2 separate regions of the Homo sapiens genome follow, and region 1 is linked to region 2. The links are contacts of gene promoters, found by promoter capture Hi-C in human tissues and cell types (Jung and others, 2019). All regions are on one chromosome and are shown on one strand. Each heading gives the region's core, a stretch centred on a gene start or on the middle of the fragment in contact. The rest is flanking DNA. Distances are from core to core; before and after follow the strand shown. Region 1 overlaps NF2 (NF2, moesin-ezrin-radixin like (MERLIN) tumor suppressor). Region 2 holds the start of RASL10A (RAS like family 10 member A).

Region 1 (3,464 bases), core at 864-3,363, 370 kb after region 2:
CCGGGGAAGTGATAAATCACAGAGAGAGATTGCATATGCGGGAAAGGTGTCTCCCACAATTAAAACAAGTGGCCAGAGCCTCCCTGGCGACCTCTGGTCTGCATTGCCAGCCCTGAAGATGGCTCCTAAATTACTTAAGTTTAATAGGTAGTTAATATAGCCAACCCTCCTTATGACCCCAGTGGGCTGAATGGCTCTGCTTGCTTTAGGAACTGGGCGTTGTATGGTAGAGCATCTTGGCCTTGACATAAAAGGTAGCATACTGGCTCCCCAGCCCTGAACCTTCCCTGCTAGAGCAAGGCAGGGGTGAGAGGGGGAAGGAAAGAAAAAGGAGTGGGGAGTGGGGTGGGGAGCAAGGATTAACAGGGAGCAGTAGCAGCACCAGATGTGGGCATAGCACACTGGGAAGAAATTGCAGTGGCGATCTGAACTCTTCCTCTCCGCCTCCTGGCTCTGTGGAAGCCCAGGGAAGGCATTAGGAACTGCAGGCTGCTCTTAGTGCTCCTCCCGGATGGGACACCTTGGGCTCATCCCTGAAGGCCACTCCTACCACTCTCACACACTGAGTTCCTGGTGTCTCGTAACTGTTGAGAGCTTAGTTTTCTTGCTTGTTTCTGGTAGCTCTAGATAGAAGACTGTATCGGCCTCTTCTAAAAGTCAACAAGCCAATCCTGTTTTTGGTTAAGAGACTTTACCTGGTCAAGCAGTTGTTCTTTGGGAGGTGTTGAAGAGCCTACAAACCTGCCTTGCCTGCCTAGGTACTTTACCACCATTTGGAGATGCCTGAGGATATTACCAGGCCTTATTTGAGGCAGTAAAACACCCTGTTCGGCCCCTCGGCACTGAAGATGTGTTTCAGTGCAGCTCTCCTCGGCACCGGATTCGTTGCTGCAACAGTGGGAGGGAAGAGCCAGATGCAAACTCGTTCTGCGAGCCCGAGGTTCTGTTCTCATGATCCTTGCTGTGATTTCTCTTTTGATGTTGGCAATTTTAAAATGACATCAGTCTATCTGGACCTTTTTCCTAAGGCTCTTGCTCAGACCACTCAGTAGATAGCCGCCACCTGCCCAGTGAGGTGAATCAGGCCCATTAGGCCATTTGTCAGGGGAAGGAACAGAGGAGCAGCGGAGGGCCCCGCCGGCCAGTGCCACAGGGCAGCCTGCAAAGCAGGTAGACAGGTTTTCAGGCAGCTTTTGCTGCTTTGGGTCCCTCAGGGATTAATACACAAAAAGGGCCCCTTGGGTATTCAGTGGCAGATTTCTCTTGAGAGCAGATAAAGTCGCTAATAACAAATTGGATTTGTTCATTGGGGTGGACTTGGCCTTTCGTTCCACCTCTGTGTAGGATAAGTGTGTGGATAGTGCTCCCACTGTGCACATCACCATATGGCATTTGGGTGCAGCTGTCCCTAGCCAGACTGCAGAAAAGCTTGATCTGGGCCGGACGCGGTGGCTTATGCCTGTAATCCCAGCACTTTGGGAGGCCGAGGCAGGCGGATCACGAAGTCAAGAGATTGAGACCATCCTGGCCAACATGGTGAAACCCTGTCTCTACTAAAAATACAAAAATTAGCTGGGCGTGGTGGCATGCGCCTGTAGTTCCAGCTACTCAGGAGGCTGAGGCAGGAGAATCACTTAAACCCAGGAGGCAGAGGCTGCAGTGAGCGGAGATCGCGCCACTGCAGTTCAGCCTGGCAACGGAGTGAGACTCCGTCTCAAAAAAAAAAAAAAAAAAAAAAAGAGAAAGTAAAGAAAAGCTTGATCTGGCCACTTAGTACAGCCATCCCCCTTTACTGGCCCTTCCTCTTTGCTTATTTGGAAGGGGGAAGGTTTCCCACACCCCAAACCAAAGATTCTTTTGGAATTTGCTGCTGCTGGATTCAGCTGTCACCTTTCTGCTCTGAGTCTGCTTTCTCCCTGTGGATCCGGTGCCAGAGGATCTGCACGTCCTTTTGTGTCTACACCCTCCCCCGCTCCTTCGTTTTCAATATGTAGTAGTGGAGAGGAAGTGTAACATGATTTTAGGGCTCACATTTCAATTCCACTGCATTTTTATGGGACAAGCAGAGACCCAGCGCCTGGAGTTATTAGGTTAGTATCTAAAATGGGTTCAGTACTGTGAGTCTTATTGTTTAAAATGAATGAGATGGTCCCCTCCTACCTTCTTTTCTCCTCCCCTGGGATGAGTGGATTGAGGCAAGGCCCCCAGAGACTAGTTGAAGGAATCCTGGTGCTCTGATTAGTTTTGTTCCCCAGCTTAATTGTACAGCTTCCTTTCTCTCACCACTGATAGCCAAAGTAGCTCTGTGTCTCCCCCAACCTTCCCTTGCTTTAGGAACAAGATGATCACAATGCAGCCTTGTGAATCAATTTTCTGTCTGTGCTGATGAAAGTGTAATTCATTCTTAATCAAGCAGCCTTGCTGCTGCAGGCTCCGTGCCGGAATACATTTAGTTACCCTCCCATCACTTTGGGAAACGATCCCCCAAAAGGGCTTTTAGAGGAGAGCTGGAAGGAGAGTTGGCCGTGCGCCTCATGCTGTGGTTTTCCAGCAGGGGGCACTCAGGAACGATGCTGGCGGAGGCTTTGTAGCTGGAAGCCGTCTGCTGCTGGCAGGGCAGCAGGAGAATGTTTGTCACAGGTGCCTTCCAGGCTTGCTTTCTCCAGACCCTGGGGCCATTTCTCAGAAGTACCCTAATGGGCCACCCAAAATCCTCAGGTAGCAGTGAGGAGGAACAGTTGAAGATGCAGATTGCATGCCTGGGTTAGAGAGTGCCGGCTGGGTACCAGGTTCTTTTAGCCAGCCTCTTCTGTCTTTTTAAGTAGACAGATGTGTCTCCTGAATCTGAACTTGTTTAGATTGGGTGGATGTGTCTGTTTTTGTCACACCACACACAATTTGGGGAGCGTAAGGAGGCCCAGCTCTGCCAGAATGGAACTCTCCTAAGTTCTCCCCTGCCGTCTCACAGCCTGCTGGCTGTCACAAACAGCTGGCAGTTTTATGGACAAGTGGGCAGGGGAAAAGGGACCCTGCCGGGGCTGAGTCTCGATGTTGGGCAGGAAGTAAAAGCCAGGACCCAACAAGTGGATCAGAGGGGGGATGTGAAGATGAACAGTCAGATAGCAATAAAGCCTCATAGATCTGCCCCAGAGAAAGAAAAGGAAGTTCGTCTCCTCAGAATGGAATTGGATTAGTGACAGACTTGAGCAGCCGGTTCAGTCGAGAGAGAACTTAATTCCTCCTGTGTTATTCACACGGCTGATTCTAATCAGATGTGAAGAGACAGCTGGAGGAGAGCAGCGGGTCAGCCCATGCCTGGTGCGGAGGCTTCATGTTCTTGTAGGCATCTTCAGGGAACTGGCAGGAGCGCTTTGGGTTGGAGACTCTGAGCAGGGCCCTTGGGTTTATAGCCTGCCCAAGGAACTGGGCCTGGCTGCGGGACTCCCATGGTTGGACCTTGTCTA
Region 2 (3,537 bases), core at 341-2,840:
CCCCTCCCCCAAGCTTTCCGGGCCGTCTCCTCATGACCACCAGGGTAAAATTTTCCAAATCGTGCCTGGAGCCTGTCAGCCAGCCTCCTTCATCCTTGGTCTCCCCTCTGTTTACCCCGAATCTTCCTCTTTTCAGCTTTCCCCAACTCGGCTCAGGCCGCTCTCCTCCCTAGATGCTCTCGGTGCTTACCACGGCCTCTAAGACTAATTCCAAAGCCCTTGGCCCGAGTCCCGTGGTCCACCACGCCCCCAGATTGTCAGCTGTAACCGTTTATGACCGTAGCGTAAGCACCTGCTGGTCTTTCCACCTGGTATGTTTTTGCCACTTCCTTTACTCAGAACTTCACTCGGTCTTCCAGGTTCAGCTCAAATGCCACTCCCTCCAGGAAGCCCTGCTTAATCCTGCCTGCTCTTTCCTCTTCACTGCTCTAGGGTCGGAGGTCTGTCCTTTACTTTGCACAAATTACTAAACGAGTCTTCGCTCCAGGGGACAAAAATGATAGGGCAGAGAATGAACCCCTCCACCAGCCCCCGTAGAAAGTACACCCCTGCTCCTGACCCCAGTCTCTCCCATTGTAGCTCTGCTCAAGGCCCCAAACACAAAACGCCACACTCTCGGGAAGGCACCGTTATGCACCACCAAGAGCTGCTCCACACCCCCAGCCGAGGCAGGCAAAGGTGGAGGCGCTCACAGGAGCAAGGGAACGCCCCTGGGCAAAATCGCCCGGCCTCCAGCCTGGGCTTGGGCGTCTCCAGGTCGGCGGGAAGGGCTGAAACGCAAGTATCCCAGGACGCACACACATCCCTCCATCCCGGAGCACAGCCAGGCGCCCGAGGCCTCCACGCGGACACGCACGTGTGCACCGAGCACGCACACCCCTCACACTGTCACACGCCCCTGCCCGCTCCTCGAGCCGCTACCTCCGGACCCCCGGGGCTCGAGCCGGGGCCAGCGACGTCGCCGTCGCGGATGCTCAAGTCGTAGACGGCGCCGTCGAGCAGCACCGCGGGTCGGTAGAGGCGCGGCCCGTCCGTGGGCCGGTGGCGCTCGGGGTAGTCACCGAACAGGAACTGGCGGATGATGGCCGTCTTGCCCACGCCCGGGGCGCCTAGAACGGCCACCCGCAGGCTACCCCCCATGGCCGGCCGGCGCTGTCGCTCCCCGCGCTGGAAAGCCTCATGGGCCGGCGCCGCACCGTGCGCCCCCAGGCCGTGCGCCCCGCGCGCCCTGCCCGGTGCGCCACGGCCCCGTCGCGCTTCTCGTCGCCCCTCGGAGCACCGAGACCGGAGAGGGCAGGCCCGAGGCAGGAGCTGGCGGCGGGAGGGCAGACAGACAGCCGAGTGGGCAGACAGGTGGCGGGCGCGCGAGCGGCTCGGGCGGGTGCCGAAGCTCGAGAGAGAGCAGAGCCGGAGCGGCGCTCAGACACCGCCTCCGCCCCGCAGCGCCAACCCAGGCGCCGGCGGACGCGCGAGGCGCCGAAGTCCGCCCCTCTCGCGGCGCGGGTCCCGCAGCGGTGCGGGGCGCGGGGGGCAGCGCTGCCTCCCGGAGCCTCTGTGCCTCTATCCTTCTCTCGCTTCCGCGCCTGGAGTCGCCGCCCCAGCCGCCGGCGCGAGCGAGCGGGGCCTCCCGGAGGCGGCGATGAGGTAACCGCCCGCCCCTCCCACCTTCCCCCACCGCCCAGGACGCCCCTCCCAGGAAGGGTCGCAGGAAGGTGACTGGGGGACAGAGATCCCGGAGAGGGCCTACCCCTTCCTTACCTCCTCCGCGTGTCCCGCTCCTCTCACCCGCTCCAAAATAGAAGCCCCTTCCCACCCACTGCCGCGGCCGCTCTTCCAAACACTGCTCGCCCCCACGCTGGCTCCCGACAAGCCCCGGCCCCCGGAGTCAGGCCGCCCGGGGTCCGAATTGGGGGGGGCGGCTGTGTGACCTTGGGCGAATCGCCGCACTGCGCTGGGTCTGCGCTCCGCATCCATCACAGGCAGACTCCTCAAGAGGCTCCAACCTTTTCTTGAGAGCCTACTATGTGCCAGGCCCATTACCTACGTGATTCTCGAACCTACAGCCTCAGCCTGGCATCGCTGGTTGAGAGAAGAGGAAACAGGCCCGAGAGGGGAATCTGCAAGGTTAGAAGGGCAGTGGGGGGGCCCTTGAAGTCTCCTTTGAAGTCCCTCCTACCTTCCTCCTGCCCACGGGGGTAAATGGCCCACACTAGACAATATTCAAACAGCCGTCCTCGAGGGGAAGTGGGGACAGAGGGTGCCGAGACCACAGCAGCTTAGCCCCAGATCCCTGTCCCAGCAAGGCTGGAGGTGACTAAATAAAGATCCAGAAATTGGCCCACTCCACCTCCATCACTACTAAGGTCACCTTTCCTGCGTGAGTTGCAACCCGTAGCGCCCCTCAAAGGGATGCAACCTCCAAAACAGGCGCCCAGAGCCCAAGTTCCCCCTCCCTCGAGCTAGTGGAGAAGCTCCTGCCCCATCACAGCTTGGAAAGCCTGGGTTAGCCCAGCCCCCCCATCCTCCGCCTCTGCTCTCCTCCCCGCTGTGTGGGGGCTCCCACGTCTCTGACCTGCACATGGCAATGCTCAAGAAATGGCGGCAATGCTCAAGAAATGGCCGCAATGCACAGATCTCTGCACTGACTAAGGAGTTCATTTATTTATCCCCTCAACAAATATTCCAAATCTTATTGCTTGTCAGGAGGCTGAGATAGATTTAAAAAACAGAAAACAGGAAAAAAAAAAAAAGTTCTGCTTTGGGAGAGAAGGTTCTAGAACACATGGGATCTAGGGACTGTCAAAGCACAGACAATGTGCCCACACCAGCCCAGGGGAAGTAGAGGAGCTAAATCCTGAAGGGGGAGGAGGCACATCCTCCAGGGAGCCTGTATAATGACAACCAGAAAGTGTCTCCAGAACAATGGCTGTGCTTTCATCCTCCCATGCTAGATCGGGGGCTGGGGTCCGCTTTCACTCCTCTCCTCAGCCACTAGGAAGCTCAGAACCACCTCTGTCTAGTGTTCCAGGTCTTCTAGCTCAGTGAGTGGGGACTGCTGGCTTCATCTTTCTTTCCTACCATGATTTTTCCCTTCACTTGATGTCCTCTTTCACGTTGTAACTTTTCAGACTTCTGGGTTTTGTTGTTTGAGACAAGGTCTTGCTCTGTCACCCAAGCTGGAGTGCAGTGGTGTGATCTTAGCTCACTGCATCCTCAACCTCCTGGGTTCAAGTGATCCTCCTTGCCTCAGTCTCTCAAATAGCTGGGACTGCAGGTGTGTACTACGACATCCAGCTGATTTATTTTTATTTTTTGTAGAGGTGGAATCTCACTATGTTGCCCAGGCTGGTCTTGAACTCCTGGCTTAAGCAATCCTCCCTCCTCAGCCTCCAAAAGTGCGAGGATTACAGGCGTGAGCCACCACATCTGGCCAAACTTCTGGGTTTTTGACTTTTCAGGCTTCTGGGTTTTGTGAGCTGCTTCAATTCCTTCGGGGAACAAGGCAAGGAGTAAATAACAAGGCACTCAGCAACACAA

The links. Contacts are between HindIII fragments. The study calls those that stand out against the background at their distance.
Region 1: a fragment that was not itself captured here is called in contact with the fragment with the promoter of RASL10A in region 2 in 2 of the 25 tissues and cell types used here (spleen and thymus).

Annotation. Positions count from the first base shown.
Region 1 is chr22:29,687,462-29,690,925 of GRCh38, forward strand. The region is part of intron 15 of NF2 (NF2, moesin-ezrin-radixin like (MERLIN) tumor suppressor); the gene reads left to right. Among named protein-coding and RNA genes, the nearest start is that of CABP7-DT, 31 kb to the right of the region's middle. RefSeq lists enhancers at 763-1,264, 1,265-1,764, 1,984-2,484 and a silencer at 2,337-2,568. The HindIII fragment of the contact is 6,822 bases long and covers 1-3,464 here.
Region 2 is chr22:29,314,107-29,317,643 of GRCh38, forward strand. It overlaps RASL10A (RAS like family 10 member A), which reads right to left and starts at 1,591. Exons shown (of 3, transcript NM_006477.5): 1 at 922-1,591. The coding sequence starts at 1,140. RefSeq lists enhancers at 1-782, 783-1,587. The HindIII fragment of the contact is 15,140 bases long and covers 1-3,537 here.